Regions from separate parts of the Homo sapiens genome. Here all the other regions are linked to region 4. Evidence: promoter capture Hi-C in 16 types of primary human blood cells and fetal thymus (Javierre and others, 2016). All regions are on one chromosome and are shown on one strand. Each heading gives the region's core, a stretch centred on a gene start or on the middle of the fragment in contact. The rest is flanking DNA. Distances are from core to core; before and after follow the strand shown.

Region 1 (4,458 bases), core at 1,823-4,322, 1.6 Mb after region 4:
ATCCTAAAAGTCCCAGTCATTACAGAGGAAGAGGAGACTGGGAGCACCTGTAGTCATCTGAGTTACTTCCTGGTCTCTTAAACATAATACCTCACCTACAGCTCTGTTGAACTGGACATGTGGTTCCCATGACAACCATGGTTCTCCATAGCATATCTCTCTTTTTGGGGCAGATGCCTGGAGCACTTCTAAAGTTGTCCTAATCTTGTTAAGTCTGGATTCACTGTAAAATGAATGTTTACTGAACTATAGTGACATGAAATATGAAGCTGAGAGGACAGTCAAGTTTGGAACACCACATAACCTGAGGGTAGAGGTAGGTACTCTGTATCATACAACTTTAGCGCAAAATTATAGATGCCTTCTAACAGTAGCATGAAATAGTGCGACAGAATTGAACCTATTTAAGTATCTAGTCCTTTTGAACTTACTGTTGTTCCCTCTGATCATCTACATAAAGATAAGTTGGGCTGCGACTATACCTAAGGAGCTTAAAGGCCAAGAGACAATATTTGGCATGTGTCTGCGGCTCCTGTTTGCTATATACTACCTAAGGTGGTTTATTTACATGCAAATTAATTGCCCATCTTTGGTCTCCAGAGCAGCCCAAGATACTCCTGTCTACTAAATCACCCTGATTCTTGGCCCTCCTCCCAGCTAAGAGCTGTGCACCAGAATTACCCACAATCCCTCTTGTTGATACAAATAAAATTCTAATTGTCTGTTTTCTTTCTGGGAGAGCCCTGCAAATCTCAAACAGCTAGAATGAAGTTGCACTTGGTTTCACGTGGACCTGCACTAAAGGGGTGGAGCTAAGTATAATCTAACACCAAAATCATCCCCACAATGCACTACCCCCTCCCATTCACTGAGCTCTGAAAGGACTCAAATGGACAAGTCTCTCGGTTGGAGGATTGTAAGTGAACTTGGCTGTAGATCATGAGCAGAAATCTTGGCTTCTCATCTGGGGAGCCAGCCAAGTTTGAGAAGTTGGCTCAACAAGGAAAGGCAGCAGTCCACTGCCTGGTAGAAAGCCTGGGCTGGGGACTGTTGTTCTCAAAGTAGTGGATGGAATTTCTGTAGTGGTTCCAGGCCCAATTTAACTAGCAGAAGAGTGGAATCTTACACCAATCCCTGCTGCCATGTCCATCCCTGAGCTACTAGTGGAGTCAATTTTAAATCTCTCAGAGACAATGGCAAGGATGTATTTTTCTCTTCCCCAAGCTTGATTTGAAAGAACAAGTTAAAAACATGCAGAACTAACAAGCCTAATTCCAGGCAACTGTGAATTAAATGTTATCACTAATGTTTTGAAAGAGCACATGAAAAACAGAAAAACCTTTACACAAGGCTGAGAATTCTCTGTGGGAAACATTTCCAAACCACAGATCCACCCAGACCAATAACACTGCCCGCGCCTCATCCCCACCCCCATTGGAGGACTAGTTTGCAGGCTTTATCACTGCCTTGTTAACTGTCTTTGCTTGCTGGCAACCCTTTTTGAGAGGGCCAAGATTTCAGAGTTGAAGAAGAAAAACTGGGTGAAGACTCCCAGTGTAAGGCATCTAATATCCTCCCCCAAATGCAAAACTGGTTTTAAAAAACAAGCCCAAACAATTGTCTTGAACAAATAAAACTCTACTCAGATGAGCCTGTACTGAGAATGATGTTCAGTAATGAAAACAAATGGTACGGAAAACCCCCTTGTGGAATTAATTAGGCCCTATTCTAGGAGACCACAGAGGTATTCTTGGACTGTACAGCAGGCTCCCAAACATCTCCCCTACACATCCTATGGTTACAGTGGCTGGATGCTGCCCACTCTTCTAGTACGCTGGATTTGTACGTCTGGATGTCTGCCAGAAAACCCTTCCTCCAGGGCATCCCTAACAGAAATACTAAGGGGCTATGCAGTGGTCCACAGATGCTCAACAGAAACTCCCGCACCAAATCACTTCCAGCTTTGACATCTCTGCCAAAGTTTTTATTCAGCCTCTCAGTTATATTTCTACCCAACTTTCCACACTGGTAGACAGAATAAAAATCTTCACCTACAATTTGTCCATCTTTGACACTACCAAGCACGTGTATCTTAAGTGTTGTTAGATGTTGAAGACAAACATTATTTTGTTAGCCAAGAAGTTGCTATGTTGGCAAGAAGTCATCTAGGCTAAGGAGGTCTGTTCAAAATTGAGGGAAATCTCTTAAAATTATTTCCTTCCAACTTACTGCAGAGAGACTGCATCTTTGTTCAAGGCATCACATCAGTCAGTAATCTTATTTCCTCCAAGTTCTAGGCAAATAGCACGGGGAAATAAATGCTTCATTATTCCAGGATGCACAAGGTTCTCCAGAACAATGCCATGTCTTACAGGCTACCTGACAGCTAACCCCACCTATAAGGGGAACCATCTCAATTCTAATACAGAAAATTCTCAGCATATAGGGAATTAGTTGCCCACTCAATATTTACTACCTTTACAAAATGTGAAGGTTGTATTTTAGAGGGAAGCTTGTGTTGCTTATGATTCTTATCAAGCTATTCTTATTAGAGACTAAGGACACGAGAATACACAGACCCAAAAATCTCATCCGAAAAGATCTATTTCTTACTTCTGATAGATAAGAACAAGATAGGATAAAGCTCAATTTCTAAGCAACTTAAAATATTCATTTTAATCAACCCAAAAATTATAACATAAAATAATAGGCAGGTAGGATGGGATAAACTCACCAAGCTCCCTAAGAGAAAGACATGGATTTCAATTTTCCAATACCTGTCCTGCTTGTAGCTGATTGCCTGGTATACATTTCCAACATTATCTAATGTATGTATTTGTTTTCAAACTTTTTTCTTTTGGTGCCTAAAATAACTGGCAAATGCTATAATCCAAACAGGGCCTCATACTATAGCCATTTCAGAGAAGGATGCCTTGGTCAGGAAATTTTAATTAAAAACCAAGCTGAATTCTTTGACCAACTATTTCACCGTTACTGGCATCTTGGAAAAATTCTTTTAGACATAAGAACAACTTTTACCCTAACACAGGCACATTTAGGAACTAACTCTGGCATTTGTTATCACTGTAAGCATCACTGTCAACACTCTAAGCAGAGAAAAAGTACATGCATTGTGCAGCACTTTTGCCATGCAACTGACTGCAGGTAAAACAGACAGTAGTTTCCTGAGTGAATTCCAATCTCGGAGGCTACCAAGCTCGTTCTCTTCTGAATATTCCTAAAGAAGCAAAGAGCTCTGAGAAGTTAAAAATATTTCATGCCAGAAAGGTCCAGAAGTGGAATTGCACAAATCTGTTTTCAAACCCCTCACAAGTATACTGCAACTGCAACTCAGTCAGGTGCCATCAAGGATGGTCACTGGAAAAAAAATTGCATTTCCTGACCAACACACTAACCCATACATTTCCTGTATACTTACACTCTTTCCTAAAGAAATTTCCCAAACAGAAATAAAGCAAAAGGAAGCCCTTGCAATATAATATACCTGTCCCACAAATTTATCTTTAAAATGCAACCTCTTCCCTCCAAAATATAATAAAAATAACATCAGTGGGATTTTGCGATGTACTGAATTTAGTAGTAAGAATACTCTTTGGGGTTACTTCCTTTAACAAAGCTTACTGGCCATTGGAGAAGCTGTTTTCCGTTTGTACTGAAGCAATAGAAAAAAATATTTGCCAAATCAGTTTCACTTTCTGTTAGAGTTAGCCTAACTTCCTAACTCTCTTCTCAGTATCTTACATTTCTCATGTAGTAAGGCCTATATATTGTAGTGACATTATAAAACATACATGAATGTTTTTATATTAGGATCCACAGAACCCTTTTCAAATAACTTTTTCAACATCTTCTGTAGTCCTGAATACCTAAGTATTTGGTTGTTCACAGTCCACATCTTTTTTTAAACCTTTTTTCTAAGGCAAAACTTAAGAATAGCTCCCTCTTAAATTTTAAAAAATATATTTATTATCCATATTAAATATTGAGAAGTAAGCAGATGCATTCACAGAGGGGAAAAAATGGAATCCTTTTTACCCTACACAGTCACAATAGTTGTTTGATATACTATAAAATTTGTTTATAACATATCTGCTTTTTCTCTCCATGCTGTTGTAATTACATTGTGCAGAGTAATATTTAGAAATATCAACAAATAGATGTGTTAAATTAAAAACAAAGTGTCAAACCAACTTCCTTTGCCTACCCCCAAAATCAAAAGGAAAAATCCTAGGCACCTTAACAGCAAACTAAAAACATCTAGACAAAACAATGAGATTAGCATTCCAGGAAAGCAGAAACATTATAATAATTTAATAACAAATTTATATCAACGATCATATGGATGAAAATTTTGAAAAGCAGAAAGCTTTCAAGAACTGCGAGCCAAAATTTCACCAAAAAAACAAACAAACAAACAAACAAACAAAAAAAACACAA
Region 2 (4,342 bases), core at 449-2,948, 1.0 Mb after region 4:
CCGGGATTCCCCCTGCGCCTCGCGGGGTCCCCCAAATCGAGGTTACCTTCGACATTGACGCCAATGGCATCCTTAACGTTACCGCCGCCGACAAGAGCACCGGTAAGGAAAACAAAATCACCATCACCAATGACAAAGGTCGTCTGAGCAAGGACGACATTGACCGGATGGTGCAGGAGGCGGAGCGGTACAAATCGGAAGATGAGGCGAATCGCGACCGAGTCGCGGCCAAAAACGCCCTGGAGTCCTATACCTACAACATCAAGCAGACGGTGGAAGACGAGAAACTGAGGGGCAAGATTAGCGAGCAGGACAAAAACAAGATCCTCGACAAGTGTCAGGAGGTGATCAACTGGCTCGACCGAAACCAGATGGCAGAGAAAGATGAGTATGAACACAAGCAGAAAGAGCTCGAAAGAGTTTGCAACCCCATCATCAGCAAACTTTACCAAGGTGGTCCTGGCGGCGGCAGCGGCGGCGGCGGTTCAGGAGCCTCCGGGGGACCCACCATCGAAGAAGTGGACTAAGCTTGCACTCAAGTCAGCGTAAACCTCTTTGCCTTTCTCTCTCTCTCTTTTTTTTTGTTTGTTTCTTTGAAATGTCCTTGTGCCAAGTACGAGATCTATTGTTGGAAGTCTTTGGTATATGCAAATGAAAGGAGAGGTGCAACAACTTAGTTTAATTATAAAAGTTCCAAAGTTTGTTTTTTAAAAACATTATTCGAGGTTTCTCTTTAATGCATTTTGCGTGTTTGCTGACTTGAGCATTTTTGATTAGTTCGTGCATGGAGATTTGTTTGAGATGAGAAACCTTAAGTTTGCACACCTGTTCTGTAGAAGCTTGGAAACAGTAAAATATATAGGAGCTTAAATTGTTTATTTTTATGTACTACTTTAAAACTAAACTGAACATTGCAGTAATGTTAAGGACAGGTATACTTTTTGCAAACAAATGCATAAATGCAAATGTAAAGTAAAGCTGAAATTGATCTCAAAGTTACTGTCTTGGAGTTTTCAATTTTCCTTCCTTTATATTTTACCCATATTCGTCTTTTAAGATGTTAGTATGATGTGAAATTTATCTAACCAATCTTGTTTAATTCCCAGATGAGGGTGCTGCCTTGAATTCCAACAACTTAAGGGGAGAAGAATCTGGGTAAACTTCACCCACCCTTAAATACAGAAACCTGACTTGGGGTCTTCCTAGTGTACTCACACTCCTACAACTTAAGTGTCCAAATGAAAATTCACCTGAATATTCCAGGAAAATATGAGCTATATTCTGGGGTTAAATGTAAAATGAGCCTTTAACAAAAGCTGGGCAGAAGTTGTCTTATAATTGCCAAAGGAAATATGGAAACAAATTAATTTTGTGACATACAGGAGCCTGAAACAAGAGACAGCAGGCAAGCTTTCAAGTGACTTAATAGTGAGTATAAATTTAGTCAAACTTGTTTAATTTTCTAGTAAAACAGCTCAACTTCTGAGCTTATGGCAAATTCTAATAACATGTTTCCCGCAGTTAGAATTACTTGGGTAGGGAAACATAATTATTATTATTTTTTTCTGGTTTGGGGATCATAACGTTTTTGCAATACTTGCCTTAAATCACTACGATAGATTTCTTTTTTAAAAGGCAAACTGTACTAGATAGTCTTGTATTTTGTTAATATACAACTTGTCCATTTTCCTCCATATCCAATTTGAGATTGTTATAGATAAGAATATTGCAACCCTTTGGTGATCCACTATCCTGGACTTAATCTTTAAAATTCACATCCTTCAGAGAAAGGAATTCATTTTTATTTTTTAGTGAAATGACATGACTACTCTTTTCTTACTCTCTTTAAGGAGAACTTGAGAGAAATTCAGTAAAACCAATAGGAAAATGCATAGTTAACCTAATGTTTTTACTGCACATAGACGTTTTGATATCTTTCCACATGATGCAGGTTTGCTTCATGCTGCTCATAAGACAATAGTTATGAAAGCTTTATCTTCAATTTAGTAGTGGACCCATCTGTGTCATTCAGAGAGATTAATTTTATGAATAATGGAATGAGTAATAATTTTAAAACTAGCTAAGAAGTTAGCCTAAGAATACTGGCCTTTGGTAATGACCCTTTCATACAAGAGTTGACTCTTAAGTACACATAAGGTGTTTTTTTTTTTTTCCTTTTTAGCAAGCCTCATTTGGGTAGGGGGGAGGAAGATAAATAGCCAACAGTGAAATTGCTTCAACATAAAAACCTTTTTTTTTTTTTAAAGGAAACTGCTTTTTATACTCTGAAAAGCTAAAGATAACTCCAATTTATCAGTGCTGGTGTCACATTGGTGGAAATTTTTCAGCAATGAGCATTTAAGGGTGTTTCATGGACTACAGGCATAAATATGTGACAAACTACTATGGTACTACAAAATCAGGTTAATTGTAGCTTTAGAGTGACGTTTACTGTGAGTTTTACCAAGATAATACCCATTCTGTTACCCTTTTATTAGTCCTTTATTTGTTGAAAGTGTTCATTCCTTGCTCTAACTTCAAAATATAATGGAGTCCTTCTGTAAATGCAGTTTGGTATGACTCATTTTAGACCTCACTTAAGAGATTAGTTTCTAAAGTATCAGAAAATGACCATTGGTAGTTTTTGATCCTACGGCCTGACCTCCGGTAGCTTGCTATAATACTAACATCAATCTGGGCAGATACTTCATTTTCTATTTTGAAAAGTAATTTGTAAAACTCAAATTCTTGAGTTTTACATTCTTGAGCATTCTTGAGAGTGTTTCTTATTTAATTCTCTCTTTTCAAATTTACCAAGATTTGCATATTACCAAGATAAAGCCACCAAAGTAGCCATTCACTTTCCAGGGGTCAGTTGAAACTTGTAACCTGATAACTCCTGGGAACTCCTTAGCAGATGTTAGATCAGCCATAGTCAAATAACAGTGGAAAAAGTACTTGATGTTAGGATGGGGCTAAATTACAGTTTAAGGATTCTCCGACAGGCACTTATCTGAAATTCTTTTTTTTTTTTTTTTTTTGAGACGGAATTTCACTCTTGTTGCCCAGGCTGGAGTGCAATGGCTTGATCTCGGCTCACTTCAACCTCCGCCTCCTGGGTTCAAGCGATTCTCCTGCCTCAGCCTACCGAGTAGCTGGGATTACAGGCATGCACCACCACACCTGGCTAATTTTGTATTTTTAGTAGAGATGGGGTTTCTCCATGTTTGTCAGGCTGGTCTGGAACTCCCGACCTCAGGTGATCCGCCCGCCTTGGCCTCCCCAAGTGCTGGGATTACAGGCGTGAGCCACGCGCCAGCCCACTTACCTGAAATTCTTATCTGAATGTTTGATTAACATAGTTGTCCCTGTTTTGAGGGAACAAATATAGACACCTGTCAAACGAAGACATAACTAGTTGTTTACAGTATTTGAGATGTGTGAAATTTCAAAACAAACTCACTTTAAATTTTTTATAGTATTGATTTGATATGTATAATGAAAATGCATTAAAACTTGTACATTAGGAGATCTTAGTACAATTTACAACTGTTAATTTAACATGTATGTGTAATATTATGTTACCCATTCAATATGTAATGGAGACTTAATGAGTATTTCTTTTTTATGTATAATCTTAAACAGTAATACAACCTGGCTATCTAGATGAAATCAGAAAATCTATTTTTATGATTTTCCAATAGTGGACCTATAACATATTCTTACTTTTAACTGAATGTAGTTTATAAAGGTTGTGTTGTGAGGCATGCTCCTCTTGCTTTTGAACACGATTTAAATTGAAGTTTAAAAATATCTCACATCCGTATGTCTCAACTGTTAAGGGAATATATATGTTTGGATTCAGAAGCAGGAATATTCAATTGTGTAATGTATAAATAGGTGTGAATAAACTTCTGAATTAGTTACAGAATTAGGAGCAGAATTTAATTCCTCGAGGAAAATTTTGGATCTTTAGAAAAAGCCCAGTTTTGTTTTGTTTTCTGAGACAGAGTCTCACTCTGTTGCTCAGGCTAGAGTGCAGTGGGGCCTCCTCAGCTCCCTGCAACCTCTGCAATTCTCCTGCCTCAGCCTTCCGAGTAGCTGGGATTACAGGCGCATGCCACCACACCCGGCTAATTTTTGTATTTTTAGTAGAGAGGGTTTCACCGTGTTGGCCAGGCTGGACTTGAACTCCTGAGCTCAGCTGATCTGCCCGCCTCGGCCTCCCAAAGTGCTGGGATTGCAGGCGTGAGCCACTGCGCTTGGCAAAAGCCCAGTATTTATTATTTTTTTTGAGACAGAGTCTTGCTCTGTTGCCCAGGCTGGAGTGCAATGGCACGAT
Region 3 (4,314 bases), core at 1,057-3,556, 1.4 Mb before region 4:
ATTCTATGTTTCCAATTCTACATTATGTACTTAATAATGAAATAACGGAAACATGTCCTCCATAATTAGTAGTGCACTAAGCATGCCCACTATGACTACTTTTATTTACTGTTGCCCTGGAATTTCTAGGTATGGGTACAGAAAATGTAGACGTTATTAGTTTTAGATAGTATTATTCCCATGGACACAACACAAAAAATCCATTAAAAAACCATTAGCTATAATAAGAAACTTTAATTAAGTGACGGATTTAAAAGTAGAGGAATAAAAGCTTTTCTATTAAGTAGTAACTATCAGCTAGGAAAAAGAATAATGAAATAAGGATACCATTCAGAATGCAATAAAAGTACAAATAAATATTTGATATAACAGTCATTCAGGGTATCCTATTTCATGGATTTACCCTAACACAACAGGACACCTGAGAGAGATGAACCATATTTTTATATGGGGAGTGTGACTACCATAAACATATCATTTTTTCCAGGCTAATGTATATGTTTAATGAAATTCTAATAAAACCTCCTTTAAAAAACCTTTCAGCAATATGATTCTGGTGTCATTCTGACCTTCTAAATGAACAAAGCTATGGGGATGAATTTATTTATTTTTTTGGGGGGGATGGAGTCTTGCTCTGTCACCAGGCCGGAGTGCAGGGGCGTGATCTCGGCTCGCTGCAACCTCCGCCTCCCAGGTTAAAGCGATTCTCCTGCCTCGGCCTCCTGAGTAGCTGGGACTACAGGCGTGCACCACCATGCCCAGTATTTTTTGTATTTTTAGTAGAGACGGGGTTTCACCATGTTGGCCAGGATGGCCTTGATCTCTTGACCTCGTCATCCACCCAACCCGGCCTCCCAAAGTGCTGGGATTACAGGCATGAGGCACCATGATCAGCCGGATAATAAAATTGTGAAGAGAGAGAGCAAGGAGAAAATATTTGCTGAACCAATCACCGAACATTATTATAAAGCCATAGTAATTAAAAATAGGATGCCACAGGAGCTGAGAGTAACGGGATCTAATAACAGTAAATAAACAAACACATATATATGTACACACACACATATAATAAAGGTGGCTTCACAGAGGAAGAGTTACTCAATCAATTATATTAAGGGAATAACATTGTGTACAATAAATGGTAGCCGAAGAGAGAGAAACATGAAACAAAGAGGTGTGGAGCCAATGATCAGTATGTTACCAAAGAGATGAACATGTCCCAGGAAGCCTGGGCTGGGAAGATGGGGACAGAGTCTGGGATGTCAGCACAGAAGGAGCTTTGCATATGTCATAAGTGTAGGCACAGGAGTTGCTCCGTAGTCAGGGAGAGTAGGTGGTAGAATTCAGAGCCCCAGACAAGGGCTTGAAAATAATAAGTGATAGAGAAACTAGTCGTTTGAATTATATATTCTCACTTATAAGTGGGAGCTAAGCTATGAGGATGCAGAGGCATAAGAATAATCTAATGGGCTTTGGGGACTAGGTGGCAGGGAAGCGGGTGGAGGGGCAAGGGATAAAAGACTACATACTGGGGACAGTGTACACTGCTCGGGTGATGGGTGCACCAAAATCTCAGAAATCACCACTAAAGAACATATCCATGTAACAAAAAACCACCTGTACACCCAAAACTATTGAAATAAAAATAAAAATTAAAAACTCAATACAACAATTAAAAAATGAACAAAAACCAATACAGTTAAAAAAAAAAAGAAAAAAGCAAAAGAAACTAGTCATTTAGAGCAGTAGCCGAGGCACACAAAGATTGGTGTTAGGTGTTAGAGCCTATTGTTTCTTCATTGCTCATTGATACATTCATCAGTATAGTCTCAAGGACCCCTGGTTGAAATCTCTGCTCTTCTATTTACTAATCATAAAATGGAAAACTTATTTAGTCACCCTGAGCCTCAGTTTCCTTATGTATAAAATGAGAATGATAGTACTTGCTTCATAGAATTATAAGGATTAAATTGAATATATATATATAATGCAGATGATTAAGTAACATTTATGTAGAACTTAATATTTGCCAGGCATTTTCTAATATATACATACATATCGTGAACTATTATTAAGCTTCTTCCGTGGGGTACATGTGGGTGGAGAGACACTGAAGTAGAAATGCCTTGTAGATAAATGGAAAGATTCTAAACATCCCCAAGGGTGCTGTATTTTGCTGAGTAAAATGCCAGATCTTAGATCTTGTAAATCTTGTCACATTTGAGACCCCAGCCACCATGGTTTCTGGGACCAACTTAATGACTGATTCTACACTCTCTCGGTTTTGTGGTAACTAGCTCTGATTTGTGCGTGAGAAACACACACACACACACACACACACACACACACACACAAACAACACAGCCGATGAGGAATAGGTGAGCACTGGAGATTATTCCTCTCATCATCAGTGCAGATGTCCACAGAAATTCCCTGAGGGTCTTTAAATTCGAGCTTTTGGTCACTGAATTCAGGCAGGCATTTATAAGAGATTTTTAGGCTTTTCCATTATTTTTCCTGTGATTTGTCTTTTAAAATAAGCTTTTATAGTAGACGCCTATGTTATTTTTCCTCCATCAGATGAAAATGATTATCTTTGTGAATTGTACTCTCCACTTGATTATCCCCTTCCCACTTTCCTGGGTGTAGCAGAACATCCTCTGAGGTCACTTAAGGGAATACATCTTTTACTAATGGCTCGTTGTACATGAGGGAACTGGATTGCCTGTCTGTTTGTTTAGTTTTACATTCTGGAACAGTTTTCTTGACAGAAAATAGTCATTTTTTTATGTATGAATCAGATATCAGGGCTATTTACCAAGTGAATCCATTTTTCATATCCCAGAAGAAAGAAAATGTATTTTAAAATAAGGTTATTGTAACTTTTGCTTGTATGTATAATTGATGTAGTTTTGGGTAACACATATCTATAATGCACACTAACAAAAAAGGGAAAAAATGAGGATGTGACATATAAACTACACTTTAAGTACAGCAGTGCATGTGATCACATTGTTAACAGAAATTGTGTCAATATTAACAACTGCTCAGCTCAGTGGTGGGCAGCCCAGCCCAAATCTGGTATAACTGTCTGTTTAGTTTATCAGTCTTGGCTATCAAGTCTCCTGACGTAACAAAACCACCCATGACAGCTGACCACATTGAATATCCAGATAAGGACTCGGGGAAAATTGAGCTGACTACTTTGATCATACCAGAACAGTTAAGATTAATCTCACTGGGAAATGCATGTAATCAATTTCTCATTTGTTCCTATAAATTAAAATGAACATAGTTTGTTTTCCCAGGGTCAAGATGATGGCATACATGCAAATTTGTATCCAGTTCTTTTCACTTAACATTACAACAAAAATTCTCCTGTCATTACTGGCTTTTGAAAAACATCCTTTGGTGTAAATATTTATTCAATTAGAGGGAAAATAATGTTATATTTTTGTTGGAAATTTAAATGATTTTAATTTTTTGGTATTACAGATAGTACTTTTATCAATATCATACATAAAGCCTTTTCAGTTTTCTCATGATAGGTTTATAAAAGTGGAATTTTAAAGTCAAATACATTTATAAGACTCTGGATAGATACTCTCAACTTATTCTTCAAAATGGTTACATTGTAGAATCTGAAAATGCTTACGTCACCACACTCGAGAAACACAATTACTGTCTCTCTCTATGAAAGATGGCATAATTAGTTGGCATTATTAAAGCATCATTGCAGTATGTTGATATGTGCATATGTGTGGCAGGAGTGTGTCTGTCTGTCTGTTCTTCCTGTCTGCTATTTATTCTGAATCTACAGTGGGAGTCTGGTGTACCCAACTTTTAAGTGTGACTGGCTTCGATTTATTTTGTGTCTTTTTTGTTTTCCTTCTTTACCACACAGCCTTCTTCATATTGTCCCTCTCATTAAGAATGACTGGGTTGTTCAGGGGATTGGCAACATTTTCTTTTCCATCTGAAAGTCAGGAAAGTGCATAATAATCACGTCCTAAGAGCAATACGGATAAAACCATTGCAGGCAGTGCACAATGTGTGGCAATAGCCAGGGTTCTCTGGTGAACTCTTTTAATATGTGTTCTAAGTTGATAGGACATTTCTTTAGGAAAACTTTTTTTAGTGGCTGAATCCTATGCTGTACTGGGCTTTACCTATCAATCTACACATTTTCAGTTGTTAGTGTCAGAAACACAACCCAAATAGGGAAAATATTGGCTCAAGGGACATAGAAGTTCTAGAATTATAGCTACTTTAAATGAAATGAATGGAGGCTTGGACCATCCCTTGGGTGCCAGT
Region 4 (4,533 bases), core at 421-2,920:
AAAGTTACCTGGATTACGTGGATTTTGACAATGTAAAAATAACAAAAACATTTTAAAACACATGCACACATATGATGTTGACGTTTGGAATTTGGAAGTCTTCTTTGGTTTTCTTTAAAAAAAAAAAAGTTTTTAAAAATCTACCTAATTTAGCCTTAATATAATGTGATGGATTCAAAATAGAATCACAAACTATGAATGACTATAGATGTTAAGATCACTTTAAAATATCAAAATGACTGCATCAGCCAAAAGCTCCACATCTTATTTGTACGTTGTAAATTTAGGGGCCGATTTTCCATTCGGGTATGTGAATTATTTAGACTTCACTCTAACTCTAACACTACAACATTTCAGTAAATCCTCTTCCTCCATCACTCTTTTCGTCTCTTCTTTATTCCTTATCTCTCATCTCTACAGACGATATATAGGTAGCTTTTAAAAAAATCATTTACCCCTTATGCCCGAGGCCCAGAATAAACGTCAAGGATCGCAACCCTGAAGCACTGCAAAACTGAACGTAAGGTAACAGCGGGTCCGTGCAAAGCCCAGGGAAACAGGTTTCGCCCTGGGCCAGGGCTCCCGAAGCTTTATCATCCTCTAATCAGCAGGCATGGGGCATTTCCATGGCTCAGGATAATCCAAAGGGGGTAAGGGGAAGTAGGGAAAGACAGGGAAGGGGTTTGTCTGTGGGGATGCTTACATACTCCCTTTGCTCCTAACCCACACCCCAAGCCCTGGAGACGATAAGCTGCTAGAGAATCCTCCTCACACCAAACCCCTCTTTATTCCCCGCCCCCGCCAGTGGATAAAGGGGGGCAAGAAAACGCCTCCAATCCCAGAAGGTGGAGAAAAAGGGGGGAGGGGGCAGAGTGAATGAGAGGTATCATCAGAAGCATTTGTAGGTAAATCAGACAAGTGGGACGGGCGCTCCCGCTCCCGCACCCCACCCCACCGCACCCCTCGCCTGCCCGGCCAGGCCTTCCCAAGGCCGGTGCCCCATAGGTTCCCCAGGAGGACCGGGAGGAAGAAGGGAAGCGGGCGAGCCGCGGTGCTGGAGGGACTAAGTTACCTTGAAGCTTCTGGGGAAGAATCCAAAGATGATCTGTGGCTTGGAGGGGCGGGAGACGGGCGAGGTGGCCGCAGCGGGGGCGGGCGGCGGGACCGGGACGTGCAGGGGGAGGTCCGGGCAGCTGCGGGGAGCCTGGGGCGACGGCTGTCCGGTACGGGGTCCCTCCGGTTCCGCGGCGGCGGAGCCTCTAGGCCTCACGGCCGGACCCGAACCTCAGCGTTCCGGTGGCGGCGGCGGCCTCACGATCCTCCCCCGCGGGCCCGTCCCATCAAATCGGCACCGACCCCGTTGCGGCTCCGCCGGTGGCTCCTCGCTCACATTCCTGGCGGGCGGCGCCTCAGCTCGTTGCCCCGGACCCGGCGGCGGCGGCGACGACGTGGGGAGGGGGGGAAGGGAGGGAGGAAGACTGGATCTGCAGCGGCAGCAAGAGAAGGGGACAGAATAAGGAGGAGGAGCCGCAGGAGCTGGAGCCGCCGCTGCCAGAGCCACCTTTCGCTACCCGCGGTGGGTCCCAGTCAATGCCCCTTTCTCTCTCCTATTGTCAATATCACCGGGCGGCTGAGTCCATGGCACACGCGCAACCGAACCTTCTGGCCAGCAGCGCCCGCCTCCGGCGCCCGCCCACTGGAGACTTCAAACGGGAAGCGAGGCCTCATTGGCCAGTATCCGCCTTCACTCCCCTGACAGCATGTTCGGCTGAGACCTGATCAGGGATTGGCGGCAGGAGGGCGGAGAAACGGGAGGGTGGGAAGAGAGAAGGTCGAGGATTGGGCCGAAGCTTGAGGAACCCGGATGCAGCCGCGATCTCGGGCGGTGCAGCCGCCGCTTCCGCCCGGCAGTGGGGCAAGCTGAAGTGAGAAGCCGCTGGGCCTGAGAGGAGCTCTTTAATTCCGGGAGGTGTGCGACTAGCGGATCAGCGGGCTGGCTTTCCGTGCTGTGCGGAGCCTTTGGGCGGCGGTCGTCTTGGACCGGAGGATTCCAAGGGCTCGGGTCGTCTAAGGGTCGGGGAGCCCCGGAGACTTGATCCCGCCCTGCAGCTAGTGTGGCCCCTCAGGGTTTGGGGAGTCCCACTCTGGACGGGACCCTGTGATGCGTAGGCAGGAATAAGATCCCCCGCCCGTGCCGGTGTGCCACTGCTTGTGTAAATGGGCCCCTTGAAACCCCCAGCAGTCGCTCTCCGCTGAACCTTCTTCGAATTTTCTCTCACCTCATCTCCTTTTCCTTAAACGTCTGTTTTGAATATCAGACCCCTGTAGCGTTGAAGCCAGCGCTCGTTTAATTAATGCAGGTGGGAACGCTGTCGCCACAGTTTGCAGTCTATTCATTCAGAATAACCCGCCAGTCAGCCGACTGCTCAGAGCTCGGAAAGACCCAGCTCCAAACTAGGAGTTTCGAGATTTTAATTGGCAAGTTGGACCCGAAAGAGTTAATGGAGAAGACTACTTAAATCTATCTAGAACAAGTGATGAGATATTTGGAGATGTGTTTGCATGCTTGGTGAATGCAGACGGCCAAATGGTACATTTCCAGATAATATTCTTGGATTAATGTATTTGAATGCACCCTACGTACATTTTTTGAGAGGAAAAAAGGAAGAAAGAAATTATTAATGCTAACTACAAACGTCAGAGTACCAGTTGTTCAAAACTTAGAAATTGGGGGGGGGGACAAAAAAATTAACATTCTTATTTTCTCAACTCAGAGATAACCACTTACAGTATTTGCATACTTCCTTTTAGTATTTTTTCTCTTTATGTTAATAATGTGTGTCGATCTGTAGCCTAGTTTTTTCCCTCAGCATTATATCATCTTTTCGATACGGTTAGGGAATAGAGCTATATATAAATAAAACTATATGTACCATATGTACAAGTGACAACGAAAAATGCATTTGCATTTCTCCTGTTTGTGTTGTTAAACACTAGAGTTTTGAAATTTTCTTTGCACACTCCCAGAAATGGCTCTTGAGTGGAAAAATAATTTTGTGCCATGAAAGATAAAAATATTCCTGCTTTGAACTGAAATGGAAAACGAAAAGATGACTCTTAGATGGAAGCAGTCTCCCCCTACTGACTCCAGATGATTGGCCACTGTATGGCTAGTGCCCACTTTTGCCGTGATAAAGTTCATCACCACTAAGTATGAACTATAGAATACCAGCAGTCTAGTTCCTACCCTCAAGAACCTTAAATTTTCCATATCTCAATATCCTGTACAGTCTTCATGAAAGTTCAGTGTCCCAGCCAAGGACCTGTTTTCTTCAATCTTTGATTGAGGGTAAATTCAGAATTAAAACCAAGGAAGATTTTGAAGCCAATTCAATTTCCCTTGGCAACAGTTGAACTGTTAAAAGCATAGTGCACGTTTGAAATTCTCACAGCTGTTGCTTAGAACATGTCATAGAGTGGGGATTTTGCTTGCAAATTATGGATCTCTATAAAGACAATTCATTTCAAAGTCATTTCACTTTCTATAAAATGGCTGAGCAACTGAAATGAGCAGGTTTTTTAAAATGGAAACATCCTTGCCTATGTGAGAAATTGTTCTCTGGACCAGTAATTTCTCCCATGTATCCCAGGGATTTCGGTACTCCAAGAATAGTGCAAGACAATCTATTTCGGATGCAGTAAAAGAAAGTATTAGGAAATATATTTACATTTAATTTTAATCTAAAAGGCATTACGGTCAACTACTATTTTATATAGAGTGAATGGCTCTGCCCTCAGTCCATGGAATGGTGCCTTGGCCTAGAACAGCATAGGAGATGTCCTCAGGGAAAAGTGGGAGTTACCCATTCCTAGGGGTTGGCAGTGGTGGGCCCACCCAATCAGCCCCTGACAACATATGACTTATTGCGGTTTCTTATTGCAGTTTCTGGATTCAACTAAGTGGACTTACTGATTATATTATCTAAGTTTAATTAAACTAACCCTCATAAAACAGACAAATGACTCTATGAGTCCTTTGCAAATAAACCACGGGAGAACAAGAAGAAAATGTTAGAACTGACTCTTCAGTATCAAATCTTTTTTTTCTTTTTTTTTTTTTTTTTTTGGTATTTTTAGTAGAGACGGGGTTTCACCATGTTGGCCAGGCTGTTCTCAAACTCCTGACCTTGTGATCCACCCGCCTCGGTCTCCCAAAGTGCTGGGATTACAGGCATGAGCCACCACACCCAGCCCAGTATCAAATCTTTGACAGCCACTTTTCAAAAGTAAAATACCAATCTAATAAATTCAATCAAATTTTGACTAGAAAAAAAATCAAGGCTACTTGAAATGTAAATTTACATCCACTGTTGTTGTTGTTGTTGTTGTTGTTGTTGTTGTTGTTGTTGTTGTTGTTGTTTGAGATGGAGTCTCGCTTTGTCGCCCAGGCTGGAGTACAGTGGCGCAAACGACTCACTGCAACCTTCACCTCCCGGGTTCAAGCAATCCTTCTGCCTCAGCCTCCCAAGTAGC

Evidence for each region. The method cuts DNA at HindIII sites, captures the fragments that hold promoters and counts their contacts. A CHiCAGO score of 5 or more calls a contact.
Region 1: a contact is called between a fragment that was not itself captured here and the fragment with the promoter of PPP2R5E in region 4, in 1 of 17 cell types (fetal thymus). The highest score is 9.8, in fetal thymus.
Region 2: a contact is called between a fragment that was not itself captured here and the fragment with the promoter of PPP2R5E in region 4, in 1 of 17 cell types (fetal thymus). The highest score is 5.0, in fetal thymus.
Region 3: a contact is called between a fragment that was not itself captured here and the fragment with the promoter of PPP2R5E in region 4, in 1 of 17 cell types (erythroblasts). The highest score is 5.4, in erythroblasts.

What each region holds. Positions count from the first base shown.
Region 1 is chr14:65,095,115-65,099,572 of GRCh38, forward strand. The region is part of intron 2 of MAX (MYC associated factor X); the gene reads right to left. Among named protein-coding and RNA genes, the nearest start is that of MAX, 5.2 kb to the right of the region's middle. The HindIII fragment of the contact is 1,125 bases long and covers 2,511-3,635 here.
Region 2 is chr14:64,542,243-64,546,584 of GRCh38, forward strand. It overlaps HSPA2 (heat shock protein family A (Hsp70) member 2), which reads left to right. Exons shown (of 1, transcript NM_021979.4): 1 at 1-995. The coding sequence ends at 527. Among named protein-coding and RNA genes, the nearest start is that of HSPA2, 3.7 kb to the left of the region's middle. The HindIII fragment of the contact is 580 bases long and covers 1,409-1,988 here.
Region 3 is chr14:62,155,845-62,160,158 of GRCh38, forward strand. No RefSeq gene overlaps it. Among named protein-coding and RNA genes, the nearest start is that of LINC00644, 18 kb to the left of the region's middle. The HindIII fragment of the contact is 465 bases long and covers 2,075-2,539 here.
Region 4 is chr14:63,541,707-63,546,239 of GRCh38, forward strand. It overlaps PPP2R5E (protein phosphatase 2 regulatory subunit B'epsilon), which reads right to left and starts at 1,671. Exons shown (of 14, transcript NM_006246.5): 1 at 1,073-1,671. It overlaps LOC112268140 (loricrin-like), which reads left to right and starts at 1,078. Exons shown (of 1, transcript NR_158218.1): 1 at 1,078-2,958. RefSeq lists silencers at 1,167-1,306, 1,347-1,486 and enhancers at 1,723-2,714, 1,777-1,986, 3,074-3,153. The HindIII fragment of the contact is 771 bases long and covers 1,078-1,848 here.